Linked DNA regions of Homo sapiens: all the other regions are linked to region 3. The links are contacts of gene promoters, found by promoter capture Hi-C in blood cells and fetal thymus (Javierre and others, 2016). All regions are on one chromosome and are shown on one strand. Each heading gives the region's core, a stretch centred on a gene start or on the middle of the fragment in contact. The rest is flanking DNA. Distances are from core to core; before and after follow the strand shown. Region 1 has its middle 110 kb from the start of LINC01814. Region 2 overlaps LINC00299 (long intergenic non-protein coding RNA 299). Region 3 holds the start of CMPK2 (cytidine/uridine monophosphate kinase 2).

What was found. Contacts are between HindIII fragments. The CHiCAGO score rates a contact against its expected background, and 5 or more counts as called.
Region 1: a contact is called between a fragment that was not itself captured here and the fragment with the promoter of CMPK2 in region 3, in 1 of 17 cell types (erythroblasts). The highest score is 5.4, in erythroblasts.
Region 2: a fragment that was not itself captured here is called in contact with the fragment with the promoter of CMPK2 in region 3 in 1 of 17 cell types (erythroblasts); the score reaches 6.9 in erythroblasts.

The regions. Positions count from the first base shown.
Region 1 is chr2:8,470,897-8,474,255 of GRCh38, forward strand. No RefSeq gene overlaps it. Among named protein-coding and RNA genes, the nearest start is that of LINC01814, 110 kb to the right of the region's middle. The HindIII fragment of the contact is 2,079 bases long and covers 912-2,990 here.
Region 2 is chr2:8,315,507-8,318,818 of GRCh38, forward strand. All of the region lies in intron 2 of LINC00299 (long intergenic non-protein coding RNA 299), which reads right to left. Among named protein-coding and RNA genes, the nearest start is that of LINC00299, 11 kb to the right of the region's middle. The HindIII fragment of the contact is 1,575 bases long and covers 726-2,300 here.
Region 3 is chr2:6,864,184-6,867,345 of GRCh38, forward strand. It overlaps CMPK2 (cytidine/uridine monophosphate kinase 2), which reads right to left and starts at 1,724. Exons shown (of 5, transcript NM_207315.4): 1 at 839-1,724. The coding sequence starts at 1,513. It also overlaps a transcript of RSAD2 not described here. RefSeq lists silencers at 1,035-1,474, 1,715-1,984 and an enhancer at 1,495-1,714. The HindIII fragment of the contact is 2,067 bases long and covers 185-2,251 here.

The DNA.
Region 1 (3,359 bases), core at 701-3,200, 1.6 Mb after region 3:
TTTTTTCCCTTTTCCCTTCAAGTCACCTTTCAACCCACACCAGGACTCCTTCAGGGAACAGCTGGGGGTCCCTGAGTCTCTTGCTGGAGGGTCTGCACCATCCTCTCCCTGTCCCAAAGTTCTCTGAGTCTCTGGACCTTTCTGTCCCCCTGTCTTCCCCACTTGGACTCTACTTCATCTTAGAGATGCTCCCATCGGGTTTGGGTTGGTGACGGTTATCCTTAGAGGCACAGGTGGGTCCTACCTCCATCCTGGACCAGGGCACCCTTCCTTCACGGTGGCCATCCCCTCATTGCTAGCAAAGCCTCTGTGGCTCCCTGTCCCACTGAAGATTCCCACCCTGCCAGGACTTTGGAGCAGAAGGAAAATTCCATCTGGCCTCACATTTCACAGGTACTTCTTGAGTGCCTGGGATTTAACCTCTCAGCTCCTCAGTTTCTCCATCTGTAAAAGTAAAGGAGGTCAGGTTGGATGATCTCTAAGCTCCCTTCCATCTCTGTTCATTGGTGATTCTCAGTGCATGAACATTTTTAAGGATCACTGGAAGGGAGTATAACATAAATAATCAATTTAGTGAAAACACATACATTCCAATGAAATGCAAATTTCTTTAAGATGACTATAGCAGTAGTGTAAAGTGAGTCTGGGTGATAGCATGGAAGTCATCCCTATACCACCTGCAAAGGGACTGCCCTCAGGGAAAAATAACTGAGTAGTAAAGGAAAAGGAAGTGATGCTATTTTATCATGTCGACTTCCAGGTATATTGTTTTAAGCTATTTGATGTTTTGGCTTTTATGGTAGGAAAAAACATCTACCTGTAGAATGTTCAAATGAGTTGTCCATTTTCACGTGCACATTACAAACCAGAAGAACATTTATCATATAAGGTAATGGAAGCCTGTTTATGTAAGCTTGTTATGTTCAAGGCAACAAATTCAGAGTGTGTAGGCTGTACGTACAATGCAGTTTTTAAATCTGCTTACATTAAAAATTCTTTCTTTTCTGACATCTTCTGGTTCCTTTTTTCCTTATCACAAGGTTTCCTGAGCTGGGCTCCATAGACATTAAGAGACTTCTGGATGCACCTCAGAGGTGCCCTCAGCCCCCTAAAGTTGTGGGGCATATGCACTCTTTCATAGTGGCTTTCATCTGATTTTCAAAGGGACCCTTGCCCCGCAAAGTGGCCTCTGATTATGCTTCTCGTTCATAGGCAGGGGAGAAAAATTTCCCAACAAGACCTGTATATGGATAAGCCACCTAGCAGAAAGAATCTCAATTCTGGATCAGAGAGACCTGGGTTCACGTCAATTTGCCAGCTGAACTCTACTTTTGGACAAGTTAATTAAATACTGTGATTCTGAGCTGCCTCCTTTCTGTAAAATGTGGGTGATAGCATTTGTCTAGTTTACGAGTTACTGTGAGGATGAAATTATTTGCTCTCTGTAAGCCCCAGCACACCATTTGTGCTCAATGGCTGGTAGACCCCTCAACACTAAGGAAAACCAGAGCTGCCTCCCCAGGGTAGCTCCCAGCTCACCAGCACATCCTGCAGAGCTGTAAGACTAAAATGCAAGCACAACTCAGTCAACTAAACCTCACTGAAATCAATGTTTCTTTGCCTTCACAAGTTCGATTTCTCCTCAAGATGGTTTCTATGCAGTCCCCGTGAGAGTTGACTGAGAATCACCATACACCAGATGTCTAATCCCCAGGTTCCAACACCTCCCTCATGCAGCCACTATAAGAGGAAAAATGGCTTCCACACCCACCCAAAATCTTCGCTGCAATGCTGTTTTGTCCTTCCACCTTGGCCAATAAAGCCACTTCCTTGTGCTTGAGGCACCTCAGTATCCCACTTCTACTTCTTTCTTGACTTTCATTTCTTATACCTTGTCTTGAGCCACATCCTCTGTGCTAGAAACAGCTCCCACTTCCTGCTGGCCCAGCACCTCTGAGCACTTCCTCTCCATGGCTATACTCTTTCAGGAGTTTCTACACCCATATCACTGGGGGCTGTTTCTAAACCCTCCTCCGGTTGGGAAAGTGGAAAGTTGGTAAGTTCCCTGTAAAATATGCTGTGTGCTAGAGACCAGGAGGCCTGTCCAGTTCCCTATGTCCAATATGGGACAGCTCAGAACCTCTCATTCCCACCTCTAAGCAAAAGCAAGAGTTTTCATGTGAGTTTCTGAAACTTGGCACTTAATGCTGTTGTTCTCATGGTGTTGAGATAAGGAATACGGGTCAGTGTATGAACTCCAGCTTCCCCACTAACCGGCCTGCGATCTTGAGCCCTTAACCTCTGTGAGCCTCAATCTATTAAGTAGATAAGACGCAGTCTGTATTCAGATGACAATTACAAGGTTGGTATTAGATTCTATGGTCAGGCAAGACAAGGCCTGCAGGAGGGAGGAAAAGGGGGATTCTTCCTGGCTGAGGTAAGGAGGAAGGGAACATCAGAGCTGAGCCCTTCCAATTCCCATAAGCCCTATAAAGTTAGATTTATGTAATAAGTTTATTATAGAAGAATAATAGTAACCATTTATGGAATACCTACTTGGCAACAAGTGCTAAATATGCCTTGTTCCTTACCCTGGCAACATGGACCTTCGTGTTCCCATTTTGCAGATGTGGAGTATGAGGCTGAGAGGTACATGACTTCCCTCCAAAGCCTGGTGGAACCAAGTCTGTCTGGAGGCCCTACCACTGCCACACACCTTCCTGGTGTTATTTGTAGCTCTAGAAGAAGAGAAGGACTCTAAGGTCAAAGGTGTTAGAGGTATTGTAATGAGATGATGAACCAGGAGGCCTCTGGCATTCCCTCTCCCTCTCCTAAGATGGTCCTTCTTTACAGACATGGGCAGAACTAAAGCCTTGGAAAGAGCCTAAGCAGACAAGCAGCCAGGGAAAAGGGCACCCAGGTCCTGGCTGGCACCAGCCTGGCTATGGAGTCCTCCCCACAGGAAAAAGATGCCGATGTCAAGAAACTCAAGCTTAAGTCAGTAACAGCACCCTGATGGCCTTGGTCACTTCCTCAGGGCACCTGGACACACCCCAAGGCCTTACAGAATTTCAAATTTGGTTCAATGGCAGTGTCTGATTTTCTAGACTTACAAATCTGTAGATTATCCAGAAGAGCAACCAAAGTGCAATTATTTTTATGGTGGTCTCTGCTGTAAGACATTTTGCAAATTCAGAGTCCTATGCTTCAGAATGAAAGCTCTTCCCAAACTCCAGGGTCAATGGATTAAAGGAATGGATCTGGCTCTTGGCAGTGCCTGGGATGGCCAACATGCAAGCTCCCTAACCCCTTACCTCCTCCCTAACCCCTCACCTGTGTTACAGGTGAGACAGCCCTGT
Region 2 (3,312 bases), core at 263-2,762, 1.5 Mb after region 3:
AAAATTCCACTCTTTTTCAAGAGTGTGTTAATGGCCTCTGCCTGCAAGTGTGGGCCCATGTGCTTTTTTCCAAAAACCAAAATGACAATAATTAAACCAGGCAGCTGCTGCCCCTAGCAATATGACAACCTCTCCCTGCTCCCTGGAATTTGCTGGAATCACCCTACTTGAGCTCATCCCGTTCGAATTAGCTGCTCTCTCCCTGTGCCCTGGCGATCTGGGTGAGTTTCCCATCTATTAGCTGAATTATTCAGATGTTTTCCCACAATGGCCCTAGCAGTCCTCATATAACTAGTTTCTAAATCAACAGTGAATTACATTATTGACAATCTGAGCAGATTAATTAAGAAATCTGTCAGGAATGACACGATGAGAGCTGGCTCCTGTTCAAGGCGGATCCGCAGTCTTCAAGACAGAAGTACGCTTGATGTGGCTTCAGAAGTGAGGGGTGAGTAACAGCAGCAGACCCAGGCACAGGCCACACCCACTGGGCTTAGCAGGACAGCCAGCATGGGAAGGCTGGGCTGGAGGTAGTAAGTCTCACACTCACACAGCTTCACAGGGCTGCTGGCTGGCTTGCATCAACTAAAGTGTAGGGCTGAAAAAAACATTCTGTGAACCCTCAAGCACTTTTTCAATGTGAGCTATGTATTGTTATTCCCATGCACAGACCCTGGGTGACAGAAACCATCATAGCTATGTCAGAAGAGGCTACTTTGCTTTTAAGCTTTTAAATGCCTGTTTTGGGGGGCTCTCAGGCCCCCCAAAAGCCAAACATCCTAGAAAATCCATTTTGGTGCCCAGCAACAAGAAAGCAACTTCTGTTCTATATACATCTATTCCTTCATGCATTAGTCCATTTTCACACTGCTATAAAGAAATGTCTGAGAGTGGGTAATTTATAAACAAAAGAGGTTTCATTAATTCACAGTTCCACTTGGCTGGGGAGACCTCAGGAAACTTAACCATCATGGCAGAAGGGGGAGCAAGGCAAGTCTTACATGGCAGCAGGCAAGAGAGGGAGTGAGCAGGGGAAACTGCCACTTTAAAACCATCAGATCTTGTGAGAACTCCCTCACTACAAGAACAGCACAGAGGAAACTGCCCACATGATTCAATCACCTCCCACCAGGCCCCTCCCTTGACATGTGGGATTACAATTCCGGATGAGATTTGGGTGGGGACACAGAGCCAAACCATATCACTTCATAATAAAATTATAGTTGCTTTCTCCAGAGAATCTTGCAATCGAAACCCAACATAAATGCAAATAAATAAATAAGAATTAAAAATCAGAATATCACAGAGTTCTGTTTGATCTAATTGATTTAATTTGAGGATTTTTTTTTGAGACCCTACTAGATCCATCAGCAATAATTTTGCAAATTTTCAGTGGATAACACAAAAGTTGTAAATTCCGAAGTCCTAGGTTCAAGTTTGAATGAAGCCCTCAGGAACTGGGTAGTCTTGGACCTGCCACTCCCAAAGCTGAGTGTTTCCACCTGCAAAGAAAAGATCCCTGCCTCCCACGCGGCTGTGAGGATCAGGTAGAAAAATGTGTTTGAAAGAGGGATTGGCTGATGTGTTATCCAACACACAACTTAAATATCTCATTTCATTTAATATTTACAACAACCTGCAATAAATGCATTATCTCTGTTTTAAGAATAAGAACAAGGAAGGTGAGTACATTTTTCAATATCAGAGGGTTGCTAGTAGCAGAGGCTGGCCCTAAGCCCCAGGCATCAGGCTCCCATATGAGGTTAGGGGTGTCCTGGGGAACTTGGGTTGTAGCTGAGCTCCAGAGGGTGAGTCAAGGTTTTCAGGAGAGAGGGAACATGGTGAGGGCAGGAATGCTGGAAAGGAGGGTGCCCTGGGCATCCTGTAGAGGAGCCACTGTAGGACCGGGGTGCTGTGTGGGGTGCATGGTGTGTCTGAGAACCAGCAAGTGGTATAATGAAGCCAAGTGGTGCCAAAGAAGCCAGGCAGAAGGTGAAAGAGAGGCCATGACAATTATCCTAATAGCAACAACCACAGCAGCAACCTGATTGACACTAACGAGAATGAGCTGGGGGTCTGATGGCGTTCAGGGTGTTTCACACATGCTAATTAACCCAGTGCTCCTTTCACCACGTGATCAATGAAGACAGTGAGGCCGAGAGGGGTGACGTCACTGGACACTGGCTATGAAGTGGACTTTGAGGGCCTGAAGGACAAGAAGAAATGTGTGGCCCCGAACAACAAGAGACCATCATGAGAAGGGCAGATGGCCGCGTGAGCAGTGAGCTTCGCATCACTGAAGCTTTCACGCAGGAGTTAGAAGAACATTTTCCTGGAATGCTGTAAAGCAGTTCTGACATCTTATCTCTTCTACCTCCAGATTCTGTAAGGTTCAGAATTGGGATCAGTCTCCTGACCTGGTGTTCTTAAAAGTTCTCATTGTGCACACCCAGTCACCTAACAGAACCTAGGGCAAAGAAGAGTGGAGTTTACTGATACCAAAAATGGGAATAAATTAAAAGGAATATCTTCCTAGATCAGAGATGAGACTGTTCAATCCATGATGATATGCAGTTGGGACACGGTCAGGAATGAAAAGAAGCTACAGAAATGCAAGTCAGGAAGAGAGACCTTGACCAGAAGGAATGAATGCAGATAAGACTGTCTCCAAAGACTCAGAGCAGGCCAGGCACAGTAGCTCAAGCCTGTAATCCCAGCACTTTGAGAGGCTGAAGTCGGTGGATCACTTGAGCCCAGGAGTTCGAGACCAGCCTGGGCAACATGGTGAAACCCTTTCTCTACCAAAAATATAATAATTAGCCAGGCATGGCGGTGCATACCTGTAGTCCCAGCTAGTCAGGAGACTGAGGAGGGAGCATCACTTGAGCCCAAGAGGTAGAGGTTATCGTGAGCCATGATCTGCCACTGCAATCCAGCCCAGGCAACAGAGCAAGACCCTGTCTCAAAAAAAAAAAAAAAAAAAAAGACTCAGGGCTGCCTGCTGGACCTGCTTGGACCTGCAGGGTGGGTGCTGATTTAGGACAAGAATAGGATCAATTCGAGGTGCATTCTAGAAGCTACTAGTCTACAGCAGCCTCACATATCATCACTCACTGCTGTTTGCTTGGAAATCTGCAGTCTTCAGTTCCACTACTCAACTGAAGCACGCAGAGCTCTGGGGGTTCCTCTCAGGGACAGGCTTGGGGCATCAAGCATCCTTTTCAAGCATTCCCCTTCCCCCCAACCTCAGCCAGAGCACAAGTCTCTGATTAATTTATCATATTTGGTTTATCTTTGAGACTGTGTTGAATA
Region 3 (3,162 bases), core at 474-2,973:
TGCCAATCTCTGTGAACTGGGGTGGGGGGGTGCTATTATTATTCCCACCATATGAATTAAGGAAACTGAGGCAGAGAGTTGAAGAAACTTGCTCAAAGTGACACAGCTAATAAATGCCAGAGTTTAAATTTAAATACACGTGGTTGACCTTGCGCTCTTAACTGCTCCACAACGCTGTCCCGTAAGCTTGGAAAATATTCCCAAGATCCATGGGGGCATCCTCAGGGCTCATCTGTGTCACAGGAGGACATCTGCCTAGCCTGCGATCAGAAAGAATTTTCAGTCTCTTTCTGTGGGTACCTGCTGTGAGTCAGATGTTTCCTTAATCAGGACAACATCGCAAGATGGGAATTGTACATGTCAAAGGGCAAAACTTAGAGTAGTTGAGTAACCTGCACAAGGTTCATGGCCAGTCGGTAGGTAAACACTATTTAAGTCTAAATTTCTTAAACCCCCTAAACTCATGCATTTTCTTTTTCACCCCAAGATCCTTGAATGGTGATCATCAGCAAATAAAATTACTTCCCAGCTGACATTATTTTCCCTCACTCCCGGCAGCCCCTTTACTCCCTCTGTACTGCTGTTGGGATGCTTTTACAGCAAGCATCGCGTGGCTTGGTGTAGGTCTATGTTCCACGTCAGGTTGGAAGATCCTTGCAAACAAGAATCTTAAAAGAGTTGCCTGGCATACAGGACACCTTCCCTACCTGATTTGTGAACGGAAATAAACAAACCACCCAGGCAAGAACCGGCTCTACAGACCAGCCTCTTGGTCCAGTTCTCTGGTCTGAAGGGTTCAGATGCCACGCTGGGAGCTGGAAGCGGACAGAACTCTTACCTCCTCCAAAACGGCCCGGGCGGCTTCCCGGTCCGGGAAGACCACGGAACTGGGCAAGTCTGGCACCACCGGGTGCAGCGGGGGCTCCGGGACGGGCACGACCTGTGCGCAGCCCACCTGCAGCCGCCTGCCGTCTTGCACCTCCCAGAGGCGCTGCCACAGCTGGCCGCGCGGGTCGGCCTCGAACTCGCCCAAGTGCGGGCGTGGTGCCTCCTGACAGGCGCCCAGCAGCTCGAGCAGCGCTTGCCGGGTGTCAGGGTCATCCAGGGGGTCGCGCAGCAGGAAGCCTTGCTGTGCGCCGCCGGCCTGGCCGCCCGGGCAGTAGCAGAGCAGCCTGAGCAGCTGGCACCGCTGGAAGGGGCCGCGGCGCAGCTGGTGCAGCAGGCGCTGGTGCAGCCGCGCCGCCCGGACCCGGGCCCCGCAGCCGGCGTCCGGGGTCACGGGCACGCACAGCGAGTAGCTGCGCTCCGGGGGCCCCAGCAGCGCCGCCAGGCGGGGGTCGGGGGCGTCTGCGTCGCCGGGGGCGTCGGCGCCTAGGGCGAAGTGAGCCAGGGTGCAGTCGGGAAGCTCCAGGACGAAGCGGCGCGGCGGAGCCATGGCCCCAGCGCAGACCCCGCGCCGCCCGAGCAGCGGCCCCGACAGTGGCCCGCGCAGGAGCCGGCGGGCGAAGGCCATGGGCGCCTCAGCGACGCCGCCCTCGGCCCCGCCTCGGAAACGAAACCTGGCGGGAGCCAGGCGCCGGCGGGAAACGAAACCCGGAGGGAGCCAGGCGCCAGCGGGAAACGAAAGCGAAGCGTTGCGGGGAAACGAAAGCCGGAGGCCCAGGCGGGGCAGGAGCCCTGGGGCTGGGGCGCCCTTCCGGCCTCTCCTCCTCGCCGCGAGATGTGCGCGATAAACGGCCGGCGCTCGGGAGCAGACGCTTGGCCCCGGGGCCCCAGGTGCGCGGCTCCGCGGGCCTGCGCGGTCCCCAGGCGCCGGCTCCCGGGGCTGACACCGAATGAGGCCCCGCGCCGTCGGCCCCAAGGTAGCTCCGTGTGCGTTCTGCGGGTGGCTGGCGGCCCCGACCCTGGTTTGAGTTCCTCCTCTGCGGCTTATGCCGGGTGCATGGAGGGGGGCGGGGGTGCACGCGCGAGGGACAGAGAAGTCCCTTCCCGGTGTAACGGGCTCTTCAACGCCCACTTGCAGGCGCACTACTGCCCTTGGATGACTGACCAGGCCCTGCAGACCATGGGCTCCCTCCCCGACCTCAACTCCTAGCTCTGACCACGCGTCCCCGCCCCTCTAATCCTGCAGAGCTGCTTTCCTGCGGGAACAGGGCGCAGTTCTGGCTCTTCCCTCTCCTGTATCTTATCTCACCTGTGCACTCACTCACCTGTGCACACACTCACCTTTGCACACACTCACCTGTGCACAAGCTTTTCCCTCTTCTTGGAATTGCCCTCTCCCTTTTGCTGACTCTCCAACTGGGAAGTGTCGCCCAGATTGGCACCTCGAAATCGCCTTTCTTCCACCAAATTGAAGTTTCCTGCACTAAGGTGAAGTGTGTCAGGATAGCACCCTCTGCCTGCCACAGTCCAGCATCAGCACTGTTGCTGCCTAACAGTGTAACTGCCTAACAGTGTAACAGTGTTTGCGCAGTTATTTGGATATTTTATTCTGTGTTTACTCATTAACTGATGCCTTTTAAAAATGATGTCAAGCAAACCAAAAACAAACAAAAAGATAATATTCTCCAGGGAAACTCTCTCAAAAAAATAGAATTGAGACGAAGATTGAAAACATTAGATGAGCTGAAAGCAGTTTTTTTTTTATGTCTTAATAGTATTGGACTTAAACTTGGGATTATATTTAATTCTGAAAAAAAAAGTCTTAACAAACGTGAAATATAGATAGGTGGTTGGAGTGTGGGTTAATAGGCTAAGAAGAAAGAAGAATTAGGAGTTTAAAATTTTTTAGCTCTTTGAGAATAGAATAGTTTTTATTCTTTCTCAGGAATTTCACTTTTGGACATTTAGCATGTACCGGTGGTTTCACGTGTATGTAGTATATGGAAGTAAGAGTCTTCTAGTTACTCCCTTTTCTTCTCTAAGACAGTACTGCATCCTCAAGCCTGCTTGACCTTTTCCCTATGCCATCCACCTCTCTGGATGTATTAGTCTATCCTGGCTGCCATAACAAAATACCACGGACTGGGCCGCCTAAACAATAGAAAATTTGTTTTCTCAAAGTTCAGGTGGCCAGAGAAGCTGGAGATCAAGTTGCCAGCAGGGTTTGCTTTTTCTGAGGCCTCTCTTTCTAGCGTGCAGACCGCCTCCTTCTCTCTG